2 separate regions of the Homo sapiens genome follow, and region 1 is linked to region 2. The links are contacts of gene promoters, found by promoter capture Hi-C in human tissues and cell types (Jung and others, 2019). All regions are on one chromosome and are shown on one strand. The core of a region is centred on a gene start or on the middle of the fragment in contact, and the rest is flanking DNA. Distances in the headings are between cores, read along the strand shown. Region 1 overlaps CUL4A (cullin 4A). Region 2 holds the start of TFDP1 (transcription factor Dp-1).

Region 1 (6,425 bases), core at 1,547-4,046, 320 kb before region 2:
AGGTGTCTCACGTGGCAAAAGCATGAGCAAGAACAGGGAGGGAGGTGCCCCACATGTTTAAACGACCAGATCTCATCACCAAGGGGAGGGCCCAAGCCATTCATGAGGGACCTGCCCCCACCCACCCGGTCCCATCTCCAACACTGGAGACCACATTTCAGCATGAGATTTTGAGGGGACACATATTCAAAACCATATCATTGGCCTAAGAGAGAAATTCCCTTAACCAGAGTTTTAAAAAACATTTATACTATGTTATTTTTCTAGAAGTTTTTACATTTAAATCTTTCTTTTCATGTTGCAGAAATTATTTTAGTATCTGAAAACAGTCTAACTGCCCCCATCCTTTCCAAAACCAAATTTAAAATATCATCCTTGAACAAGTTATTTGAATTATCACCTTATTATGTATCAAATTCATATAGGTCAGTTTCTCAATTCTCTTCTATAAATTCTGTGTCTATTTCATAGCCAGCCATTTTTTTTGTTTTGTTTTGTTTTGTTTTTTGAGACAGTGTCGCCCAGGCTGGAGTGCAGTGGTGTGATCATAGCTCACTGCAGCCTCAACCTCTTGGGCTCAAGCGATCCTCCCACCTCAGCCCCAGGCATATGCCACCACGCCCAGCTAAATTTTTGTATTTTTTGTAGAGATGAGGCCTTGCCATGTTACCCAGGCTGGTCTTGAACTCCTGGGCTCAAGCAGTCTTCCTACCTTGACCCCCCAAAGTGCTGGGATTACAGCCGTGAGCCACCGTGCCCGGCACCAGGTTCTTTTAATTAATGTAGCTATTCCTATAACTTTATTCTTCCAATGAACTTGACAATAATTGTATCACGCCTTTGCTCCCCCAAATAAGAACATTGACATTTTTAATCCATATTGCATTAATTTACAGAGCTTTTATCTTTATCATATTAAATCTTGTGATTCATACATATGTGTATATATGTAAATACATACAAATCTTTTTCTCAGAGCTTTCTAGTTTTCTTCTGTAAGTCTTGCATATTTCTTGCTAGTCATAAATTTTCATTCATTCAACAAATACTTATTGAGCATCTGTGGTGGCCCAGGTCCTCTGTGAAGCACTGAGAATTCATCCATTAACAATAAAGAATAAGTCCTTGTTTCTAGGAGTGTTCAGTCTTTTCCAGCAGAGAGGTAGCAGAGGATCACACACATTGACTAACTTGTAAGAGTGGAGGAAAATGTTAGGATAGAGAAGTGCAGGAGAGTCTAATTAAATACTGTCGTCAGCCAACGCTTTCCTGAAGAAGTGACTAGCTTTGCTCAGGAACTGAAAGAAGGCCTCTGGCTGCAGCATCGTTGCCAAAAGGGGAAGCTGAGCCAGACAGGCCTGATCAGGGAGCCACAGCTGGACCCTCTGAAGATGGCTCAGATCCATGAAGCATTTGGAAAACCACTAGAGTTTTAAGCAAGACAGGCTAATGAAATGCTGATATCTTATAAAGGGGACCTTTTTTCTTTACATTTCTGACGGTTTTTATCAGAATGTATGTATTAATGCTATTTGTCTTTGTATATTTATTTTATTTCCAGCCACTTTACAAAACTCTTTAGCTTTGAAAGTTTTTCTGTTGATTTTCTTGGATTTTCCAGCTCATCTACAAATAATGATCGTTTTGTCTGCACCTTTTCAATATACCTCTTTAGTCTGTTCCTGTATTGCATAGTTAGAACCTCTAAAGTAATGTTTTTAAGGAATAGCAGTGCAGCTGAGCTTCCTAATTTTATCTCTAGTTCAGAGGATGTTAACTTTTTGGGGGTCATGGATCCTGTTGAAAATGTGATGAAAGCTTGGAGTCTCTCCCATCCTGAAGCATACTTGCCTCATATGTATGCACAGACCTTCCCCCAGCCCTCATTTCAACTGCAGATCCCCATCAGGTTCCTGTTGGACTAAGGTTAAGTTGTCTCTAGTATTTGCTGTTTGTTTCTGATAACCATGTTTTATCATGTTCAGATGCTTTTTTATTCATCCTTGTATGCTAATGTTTGTTTTAAATCAAAAAATCAATTTTATCATGCCTTTTCAGCATCTATCAAGATGGTCATGTAATCTAACCTTTCAACTGCTACAGTGCTCTCACTTATATTCACAGATTTCCTAATGTTGATCAACACTTAACATTTCTGGAATATATCCTGATGGTCATTATGTTTTGTTTACTGTGCTGCTAGTTTTAATCTACATCACACATAGAGTTGTTGCAGCTTTCTTATAAGGAAAATAACTTTTAAAAATATTTTTTAAGTTTTGGTTTTGGAGTTTTGCTATTCTGGGAAGGTACCTTTTACTACAACAAGTAAACATGCATAATAAAGTAGGATTCATCCAATGTCTGACCTTTCTTTGCATCAAAAGAACATTTCCGGCCAGGCACGGTGGCTCACGCCTGTAATCCCAGCACTTTGGGAGGCCGAGCCAGGTGGATCACGAGGTCAGGAGATCGAGACCAGCCTGGCTAACATGGTGAAACCCTGTCTCTACTAAAAATACAAAAATGAGCCGGGCATGGTGGGGGGGCACCGTAGTCCCAGCTACTTGAGAGGCTGAGACAGGAGAATGGCGTGAACCCGGGGGGCGGAGCTTGTAGTGAGCCGAGATCGCGCCACTGCACTCCAGCCTGGGTGACAGAGTGAGACTCCGTCTCAAAAAAAAAAAAAAAACCATTTCCCATCAAATTCGGTAACATCAGGTCATTAATATTGAAATATAGGCCAGGTGTGGTAGCTCACACCTGTAATCCCAGCACTTTGGGAGGCCAAGGTGGGCGGATCATCTGAGGTCAGGAGTTCAAAACCAGCCTGGCCAACATAGTGAAACCCTGCCTGTACAAAAATACAAAAAGTAGCCGGGCATGACAGCAGGTGCCTGTGATCCCAGCTACTCGGGAGGCTGAGGCAAGAGAATCGCTTGATCCTGGGAGGCGGAGGTTGCAGTGAGCCGAGATCACACCATTGCACTCTAGCCCAGGCAACTGAGTGAGACTCCATCGCAAAAAATAAAAAGAAAATACAGTTTTACACTTAACTTTTTTTTTCTTTTTTATACAGGTTGAGGAACAGGTTAGCACCACTGAGAGAGTGTTTCAGGATAGACAATATCAGATTGATGCTGCTATCGTCAGAATAATGAAGATGAGAAAGACTCTTGGTCATAATCTTCTAGTTTCTGAATTATATAATCAGCTGAAATTTCCAGTAAAGGTAAATGTAACATTAGCATAATTAAATTTGTAGTATTTGCTAAACAATTGACAAAGCATGTTTAATTCTATGTTCAGTCATATCATTTGACCTGCATTATTCATGGTGCTTTGTGTATACACTGAATGTAGAAAAACTGGCAAATGTGAAGCTCTTTATTCCAGGTGTTGCTCATTGCCACTGCAGAAATGATAGAGCCCTAAAACTCTCCTTCCCAGGGATGGTGCGCGCTTGTTCATATTTTCAGGAAGGGAAGAGGTAGATGGGACATGGAAAGCTGAACACTTTTCTCATAGTAGTAGCGGTCAAGGTTACATCACAAGATTTTAAGGAAATGATAACAATAACTAACTTACTCAGCGTTTACAGCCTACACCGCGTTTTCCACCACGGTAATAGTCTACTGTTGCTGTTGCTTATGAAAGTCAGCCCAGGCCTGTCAACCCGCGTTGTTTTCAGAACTGAGATTTACTGTCCTGCCACGTGTGGGATGCAGGATAAGCCGGGAAAGTATTATGAAACGTTTTTTACATGTATTTATCAACCCAGGAAATACTGAACTCTGATGACGCCTGGCCTCTCAGGGACAGGACCGGCCACACGTGCTTTGGAGGGAAAGTCCCCAGATTCCATGTTGTGCAGTTTGAGCCTCCCATTCCATCAAGGGAATAAAGTTGAGATGCACTAAATAGTCGAACACTTAAGAGTCTGGTGGAAGTGCCACTGTCCATCAGCCCACATTTGCCCCCTTCCCTGCAGAGGTGAGGTGCCGTCCTCAGGGCCCTGGGAAGCTCCAAAAGCACCATCAGGTTCACTGCCCCTTCCTCCCACCAGCTGGAGCAAGTCTCCTGTTGCCACTGCAAACAATCAGGCCCAGCGCGAAGCAGAGGTGAGCAAGAGTGGAGTGTGGCAGACCAGGGCACCTGCTCTGCTCTCGGGTAGAGAGTGGCAGACCAGGGCGCCCACTCTGCTCTCAGGGGTAGAGTGTGGCAGACCAGGGCGCCCGCTCTGCTCTCGGGTAGTTGGGTTTTTTTTTTCTTTGAGATGGAGTCTTGCTGTCCCCCAGGATGGAGTGCAGTGGCACGATCTCGGCTCACTGTAACCTCTGCCTCTCGGGTTCAAGCAGTTCTCCTGCCTCAGCCTCCTGAGTAGCTGGGCTTACAGGCACGCGCCACCACACCCAGCTAATTTTTGTATTTTTAGTAGAGACAGGGTTTTACCGTGTGGTCAGGCTGGTCTCAAACTCCTGACCTCGTGATCCGCCTGCCTCAACCTCCCAAAGTGCTGGGATTACAGGCGTGAGCCACCGCGCCCAGCCTCAGCCACATCTTGTAAAATGTGTGGCTTATCACTGAATAGAAGGTGAAGTTTGTTTGGAAAATAGAGGGTCTCCCTTGTATAGGGAGAGCCTTGCACGTAAGTGCTCACACAGATTTTCTTCCTAATACAGCAGAGCTGGAGTGGCTGTTCCCTCTGGGCAGAGACAGGCTGTGGCTGTGGATTCGTCTCCTCAGTCACCTACTCTTAGTGCAGGAACACTGGGGATTGTAGTTTCACTTACGTGGACATGGCATGCAATAACTATGTAAATACACGAGAATAAAACTACAGGCCAGGCGCACTGCCTCACGCCAGCGATCCCAGCACTTTGGGAGCTGAGGCAGGCGGATTGATTGAGCCCAGGAATTTGAGACCAGCCTGGGCAACATAGTGAGACCCCTTCTCTACAAAAAATAAAATTAGCCAGGCATGGTGGTGTGCAGCCTGTGATCCCAGCTACTGGGGAGGCTGAAGCACGAAGATTGCTTGAGTCCAGGAGGTGGAGGCTGCAGTGAGCTGAGATCGCACCACTGCACTCCAGCCTGGGCGACAAAATGAGACCCCATCTCAAAATAAATAAACAAAATAAAATACACTACTTAGGCAGAAGCATCCTTTCAAAGGATAAAAGTTGCCCCAGTAAGACATGTTGAGATTTTCCTTTCAAATAAAAATGTGTCACGTGATCGGGTCTGCCTCACTTATACGTGCCCTTGCTGATGGCAGATGTCGGATCTGCCTCGCTTATACGTGCCCTTGCTGATGGCAGATGTCGGATCTGCCTCGCTTATACGTGCCCTTGCTGATGGCAGATGTCGGATCTGCCTCGCTTATACGTGCCCTTGCTGATGGCAGATGTCGGATCTGCCTCGCTTATACGTGCCCTTGCTGATGGCAGATGTCGGGTCTGCCTCGCTTATACGTGCCCTTGCTGATGGCAGATGTCGGGTCTGCCTCGCTTATACGTGCCCTTGCTGATGGCAGATGTCGGGTCTGCCTCGCTTATACGTGCCCTTGCTGATGGCAGATGTCGGGTCTGCCTCACTTATACGTGCCCTTGCTGATGGCAGATGTCGGATCTGCCTCGCTTATACGTGCCCTTACTGATGGCAGATGATGTATGTACATTTCACAAGTTTCACGTTTCCCTCAGGAAACCACACTCTGACCATAAACTCACATGGACGCTTTTTTTATCAAGAGATAACGTTAACTTTGTCTTTAAAATAGAAAGTTTTGTTCATTTCATAAATATGTGTATAATTATAAATGATTTTCATATAAATATCTATTTGTATATATATTTCTATAAGTATAGTTACATACTTCATGCATATACCCCTTGTATGTAAATGTTTGTAAATTTAATGCCATTGTAATTAGGGGGGTTTTATTCTTCTTTTTTAGCCTGGAGATTTGAAAAAGAGAATTGAATCTCTGATAGACAGAGACTATATGGAGAGAGACAAAGACAATCCGAATCAGTACCACTACGTGGCCTGACGCATCTGCAGACGGTTCCCCTTCATGAAACACTAGAATGTACCCTCAGAGCAGGAAGCACACCTGTGCCATTTCTGGGACTCTGATTGATCCAGCTGTGGACATTGGAAGGCGAAGGAAGGGAGGTGGCTCCTGGGTCATCTTTCACAAGGCTCAAGACTTCAACCTGCAGATGTATCTTTTTCCCTCCAGTTTTTCCTCTAGTTCTTTTAGGCATTTAAATTGTTTCTGTTACTCTGTGCAAAATAACTTTGAGATTGGACAAGAAGATGTTACTAAAGAGAAGTTCCTTTAAAAGGTCTTGTTCTTGTGTCAAAAAGCTGCAAGTTTGGTTTGTTCTCGTGTGTGATCATGAGTGCACAATGAAGAA
Region 2 (6,770 bases), core at 1,970-4,469:
CTTTATTGACATTTTACTAAAGATCAAGAAAATGCCATTTACGCATATCCAGGAATATTATTTTTTAACTTTCCCCATAAATTCCATGAGTCCCTGCCTCCTGCTTGTCCTCCCACTGAAGGCCTCTTGCCATAGTGATGGAAGAAGGCAGAAAATAGGAGATGGTTGGAGAAAAGACCAATGTCATCGAGGAGGGAAACAAAAGACAATCTGGATATGTAATCAGCAGATTTAGAATTAAAACAGGGTTAGAAAATTCTCTCTCTCTGAAAGAGAGGACAGTTTAATGGGGGTGTGGAATTGGTGGGGAGAGTTTGCACCATGCCTGGAGACTCTGGAGCAGACACACACACAGCTTTTGCGAGATGAAGACTTTTCCTGGGAAGGACACGTTCACTTCTAGTAAAACACAGCACAGGCCATTTCCATGTAATATTTGGGACGGTAGCTGAATCTGGTGCCCACATGCACAAAACAAGACAGTATCTGGCCCCAACCATAGGGCTGAACCCAGCCTCTGGCATGTGGTGCAAGTCAACACCTGAACGAGTGCATCATTCAAAGAACCCTATCTCCTAAACAGCCCAGGCTCCAGAGATACAGGGAGGCCAAAGGCTTAGATAAATTCCGAGGGTTATGGGCTTATTTAGGAAGTTTGCATTTCAGCAACCCAATCGAGAGACTGCAAGGCAAGGCAGTGGCTAAAAATATTTGGATCATCAACCAAAATTTTAGAGGGAATTCTGTTAACTTTTGTTAAGAGAAACGAGGGCTTTCTGTGGAACATGTGGCTATGGAGAGGAAAAAGGGAGTAACTTTTTGCCCTTTTCCTAAGCCACACAGAGCACCGTGAGCATTCATTGCCGCAGTGCCTCGTGCGCGTTCGGAGTATCTCAGTACAGTGATTTTTGTGCAGAAACTTCTTTGAATAATATTAGTTATCAGCCATATAAACATTGTTGAATTATCAGAATCCTGAATTTGTGGGGAAGACGTTTAAGACCCCAATTTTGGACCCTACGTGTGTATCCTCCTAACTGGAGCCCCCAGGTCTCAGGGAGAAGTCCCCAGAGGCTGGGAGGGTGTCACTGTTGCCATCAGGGCTCAAATACTGACATTTAGGAACACATAAAGAATCCCTGTGAAACAGAAGGAACGGACCTAGGAAGATAGGGCCATTTGAGGAACATCAGTGTTCTCTAAGTATCTATTTGTGTGAACCAGCTCGCAGAAAGTGAGCGTTTCTGGTAGTCTTCAAAGAAGAAACGGGTGCTAACTTGTAAGCAGTTTAAGCCAAGTGACCAGAGCTTTAGGGGGTGCGGCGTTGCCTGAGGGGCAGGAGTGGCCAAAATCAGCATAAAACGTGCAAAGTGGGCTGTCATGTAATAATACACCGCACAGGCAGAGAGGCCTTTGGTCAGCTCCTCAAGTCCTCTGTAGATGTTCCTTACCCTCGGCGCGCACCAGCCTCTGCCGCCTGCTGTGGCCCTGAACTTCGGACTCTTCTCTGGCCTAGCCCGCCCTTGGCTGGGGTGCTCGGGCCTGGCCCTAGCGGCGGGGCCCTCCAGGGTGGATTAAGTCTCCAAGACTCCGGGACCACCAGGCTCACCATGCAATGAAACTGTTTCTGGAGTTTTCCTGTCCCTGCTTTCCCTCCCGAGTCCCGGGCCAGGCTGCGTCCGGTGGGCACCGAGGACGCCCAGAATTGTTGGGAATCTGGGCGGAGGCCCGTCGTGGGCTTGGAGGCCACCGGGTCCAGCAGAGGCAGAGGCCTCTGTGCCACGCACGCACACACACCTGCTCTCCTCCGTGTGTCCACATACACACGTCTATGCACACACCTGCTCTCCATACATGCACAGCCCCACACACAGTCGGCCCTTTATGTGCACACACACTCGTGCACACAAGCGGCCCCCTCTCCTCCGTGCATACAGGCGCACACACAGCTGGCTCTCCTCTTTGAGCACACACACTCAAGCACACACCCGGCCCCGCTCTTCCAAGTGCACACACACTCCTGCACACACTAGTCCCTGCTCCCCCCCCCACACTCGCGCACACAGCCGGCACTCTCTGCTCCCTGCACACAAACACACATCCTGACATACCCGGCCCCCTACCTGCTGCCCCATGTGCACACACACTAGTGCACACACCAGTCCCCGCTCCCTCACATGCACACACACTAGTGCACACACCAGTCCCCGCTCCCTCACATGCACACACACTAGTGCACACACCAGTCCCCGCTCCCTCACATGCACACACACGAGTGCACACACCAGTCCCCGCTCCCTCACATGCACACACTAGTGCACACACCAGTCCCCGCTCCCTCACATGCACACACTAGTGCACACACCAGTCCCCGCTCCCTCACATGCACACACTAGTGCACACACCAGTCCCCGCTCCCTCACATGCACACACACGAGTGCACACACCAGTCCCCGCTCCCTCACATGCACACACACGAGTGCACACACCAGTCCCCGCTCCCTCACATGCACACACACGAGTGCACACACCAGTCCCCGCTCCCTCACATGCACACACACGAGTGCACACACCAGTCCCCGCTCCCTCACATGCACACACACGAGTGCACACACCAGTCCCCGCTCCCTCACATGCACACACACTAGTGCACACACCAGTCCCCGCTCCCTCACGTGCACATGCACTAGTGCACACACTAGTCCCTGCTCCCCCACGTGCACACACACTCTTGCACACAGCCGGCCCCGCTCCCCCACGTGCACACACCAGCTCCCGCTCCCCCACATGCACACACACTCGTGCACATAGCCGGCCCCGCTCCCCCATGTGCACACACACTCTTGCACACAGCCGGCCACCTCTCTCTCCGGACACACACAGTCAGAGGCGCGCACAAACACAGTCCCTTGGCCGCCGAGCGCACGCCGCGCGCGCGCACTGCCCGTCCCGGCGCAGGCCCCAGCTACATCTCCGCACGCGCACGCGCACACACGGACACGCGCGCACAGCCCCTCCCCGCTCTCCCAGGGCGCGCAGCACTGGCGGGAGGAGCGGGAGACCGAGGAGCAGCAGAAGAGGAGGAGGAGGGCGCCGAAGGCGCGAAAAGGCGCGCAGGCGCGCTGCGCGGAGCGGGCCCGCCGCCGCCCACGTCACCGCGCCGCGCGCACGTCACGCCGGCCCGACGCTCGGCCAGGGTGAGCCCCGCGTCCCGGCGCCACTCGGCCCAGGGCAGGGACCCCGCCACGGCCGGGACCGCCCGGCCCGGCCCCAGCCCGCGCCTCTCCGCGCCGCCCCGCGCTCCGCACCGCGCCCTCTCCGCGTCCCCGCCCGCGCGGCCGGACCGGGCAGCCAGGTGCGGGTGGGCAGGGGATGCCGCGGGAGCCGCGGGCGGGAGCCGGGGGTGCGGGCGGGACCCCCGGCCACCCCATCCCTTGCCCCGGCCGCGTGTAGGCGCCGCGCGGCCCCGACCCGCGCCCTCCCGCGCCCTGCGCGCTCCTGTGCCTCGGGGACCCCGCGCGCTCGGCGCTGGTAGGGGCTCCCCAGGTGACCGCGGGGCGGGGGTCCCGGGCCCGGCCCTCCCGGCCGACAGCAGCGTCCGCGCCCCACGCTGGAGGTGGGGCCGGGGCCGGGGCCGGGGCTGGGGCCAGGGTCGGCCGGAGCGCGCAGGGCGGGGGAGGGGAGGCCGCCCCACGGCGGCCCGCGGGGACCCGGTTCCGGCGCGCGCGGGAGGCGCCTCGTGCGGAGGCGGCCCGAGGCCTAGTGACAGGCGCGCGGCGCGGACCCCGGAAGCCCACCTGTCAGAGTTACCGGTCAGCCGGGCGGGCGCCGCCGGGGTCTGGGGTGGACGCCGCGAGCCTGCACGTTGCGCCGGGACCCCGGGGCTGTGCCCAGGTGGGTGGTGGGGCACCCCCCTGCAGCGGCGGGAGGGAGGCGCTGCGCCCTGGCTCCTGGGGCTCGGCCCCACCCTCGGCCGCTGGGCGGGCCGTCGGGGACCTGGGGGTAGTGGTGGTGACCCTGCGGGCCCGCGGGCCACTTTTCCGCAGGGGGCATTTCCGTCTGGCGAGGCGACTGAAAATCCTGAGTGTGGGAGTCGGTTTGGCCAGCTCCGCTCTCAGGATGGAGGGTGCCTTTGGGAAGGAAGGTCCGCGTTTCCTTTGAGATGTGTTATTTTTTAAACTTCGTTTTTCATTCTTACTTATTTCTTGTTTTTCCTTACTTTTTTTTTTTTTTTTACCAGAAAAATCATTTTTCTTCTCTGGGAAGGTGAACATTTGTAGCATTGATTTCCCGGATCTGGTAACATGGCAAAAGATGTAAGTATGTTTGCTTCATGCTGCACACGAATGTTTGCCTCGCACTAAATTCTTTGTAGTTCTCTGCCTTTATTTCAGAATGACAACACATAAGCTACAGTAGTGTTTATTTTCAGACTTTTAAAGCGTCTGAAGCGGGATGAAGGTGAAAGATGGAAGGATCTGATCTCTGAAGCTGCGGTCACCACCCACAAGTTGTGGCCTTGGATACCACACTGCAGTTGGGTGGTGATGGGGTGGTGCCTTCTGACTTTTTCCTTATCTTTACCGACTGTGTTAATTGATAATTTTAAATAAACGCCTTAATTAAATTGAGGTGGAGGGTGTTGCAGCACCGCAGCGAATCCTGCATTTCTTGGGGGGCTTCCACATGAGACGCTGGACGGGGGCCAGGCTCAGGGCTCAGGCTGTAGCCACCTGCTGGCACCTGTCTTCCTACAGAGGAAGTTAATTCCACTTGGGTGGACCAAGAGCTAAGGACTTGTTTTGGCCACTTTTTTTCTCAGAAGGATGAGATTTCCTGATTTATGAAATCTGGTAAAAAATGCTACTTAGCCTGCTTTGCAGTTGTCATGAAACTATAGAATATTTTGAAAATTTTTTAAAGCCAGAAATTTAGTCTATTTTATTGGTGTGCGGTTCTTTACCGTGCTTGGTTATGTCAGTCACTGAAACACCAGCTGGATTCTTTAGTGTTTCCCACCGTGCATCGTTTTGTAACTGAGTGAAAGGTGCTGTTGATGTGTTTACCTACTTACCGCACAGAGTTGGAAAGAGTCCGCACATGCTGCCTCTGCCTGAGATACATCTGTAGCGAAAATGCGTCCAGAGTGTGGAGCCCTCTCCGTTGGCGCAGAGGTTTCAGTGGTCCCTGCGAGGCCTTTTGGGGTGTCTGCCCTCCCTGACCTGCGACCAGGCATGTCACACGGCATCCCTGCCTTCAAGCACTGGGGTCCCCTTTAGAGAGGGTGTGTGAGCACCCAGGTGGACCCAGTGTGAGTTTTTGAAGTCATATCTGGCTGTGCTGCGAGACTACTTTTATCCTCTCCACTGTGCTTGTCCGTACCATGCCCTGACCTCGTGCGGGCATGCACTCAGAATGCCAGATGTGGGCATGTGCTCAGCGCGCAAGCCATGTTCATTACATCTCCTCATGGTGAGGAGCTGGACCCAGGGCCTCGGTTAGAGCACGCTTCTGGTGTTGTGTGGTTTCCTGTGTGGTTTCCTCAGATGGTTCTCAAACACGCTTTGATACATAATGGATGGTGTTTTCGGGGCCCTCTTTCATTCCCCCGTGATTTCACTGGCACTGTCTGTGAGCAGCATGTAGTGTGAGGCTGGGGGTGGGGGGCGTGTGGAAAGGTGGTCCGGCTCTGCAGGACCCTGAATGCTCCATCCAGTGTGGGCACCTGAGACGCAGCATTTGTCAGGAACTGCATAGGCACAGGGGCTGGGGGCTCACCTTGCACTCAGGGGTTGTGATCTGAGTTGGGGGTTGGCGCTGGGAGGAGAGTAGGATTCTGCAGCTGGTGAGGCCTTCCCTGCTCAAAGCCTGGGAGTGGTCAGGAGTGCTGGGTCTGGATGGAAAGTGAGGTTGTGAACAAGTCAAGGAATTTGATGTTTTCGCTAGCTCTTTTTTTTTTTTTTTTTTTTGAGACAGAGTCTCACTCTGTCTCCCAAGCTGGAGTGCAGTGACGCGATCTTGGCTCACTGCAACCTCTGTCTCCTGGGTTTAAGCAATCCTCTCGCCTCAGCCTCCCGAGAAGCTAGGATTACAGGCATGTGCCACCATGCCTGGCAAATTTTTTTGTATTTTTAGTAGAGATGGGGTTTCACCATGTTGCCCAGGCTGGGCTCGAGCTCCTGACCTCAACAATCCACCCGCCTTACAGGCGTGAGCCACCGCGCCCGGCCTAGCTAACTCTTTTAAGTAGAGGTGTGACATTTGAGTTTTGAAAAGATGATGTTGGCAGCTTTTGCAGAAGGGAACATCGATAACCAGTTAGGTGTTTTGTTTTTGTTTTTTGAGACGGAGTTTTGCTTGTTGCCCAGGCTAGAGTGCAATGGCGCGACCTCAGCTCACTGTGACCTTGGCCTCCTGGGTTCAAGCAGTTCTTCTCCTCAGCCTCCCAAATAGCTGGGATTACAGGCGCGCCACCACACCCAGCTAATTTTTTGTTAGTAGACACGGGGTTTCACCATGTTGGCCAGGCTTGTCTTGAACTCCTGACCTCAGGGGATCCACCCACCTCGGCCTCCCAAAGTGCTGGGATTACAGGCGTGAGCCGCTGTGCCCAGCCCACCAGTTAGGTTTTTAAAAGCACTGGTACTGCAGTAAAACCACAGGTGTATGTCAAAAGCCTTTATGCTGGGGGAAAGCTGTGCCACTTGGGTTGAAGGAGGCAGGCCTCCAGCTTCTAAGTGCCCTGGGGCCTCTGTAGAGGGCCATGAGGG

Evidence for each region. The method cuts DNA at HindIII sites, captures the fragments that hold promoters and counts their contacts. A contact is called where the count stands out against the background at its distance.
Region 1: a fragment that was not itself captured here is called in contact with the fragment with the promoter of TFDP1 in region 2 in 1 of the 25 tissues and cell types used here (lymphoblastoid cells).

The regions. Positions count from the first base shown.
Region 1 is chr13:113,257,528-113,263,952 of GRCh38, forward strand. CUL4A (cullin 4A) reads left to right here. Exons shown (of 20, transcript NM_001008895.4): 19 at 3,080-3,232; 20 at 5,960-6,425. The coding sequence ends at 6,055. MIR8075 (microRNA 8075) reads left to right here and starts at 5,393; the gene lies at 5,393-5,472. The HindIII fragment of the contact is 6,677 bases long and covers 1-6,135 here.
Region 2 is chr13:113,581,534-113,588,303 of GRCh38, forward strand. TFDP1 (transcription factor Dp-1) reads left to right here and starts at 3,220. Exons shown (of 12, transcript NM_007111.5): 1 at 3,220-3,355; 2 at 4,241-4,316. The coding sequence starts at 4,305. RefSeq lists enhancers at 1,069-2,042, 2,043-3,014, 4,992-5,592 and silencers at 2,983-3,312, 3,683-4,052. The HindIII fragment of the contact is 44,568 bases long and covers 1-6,770 here.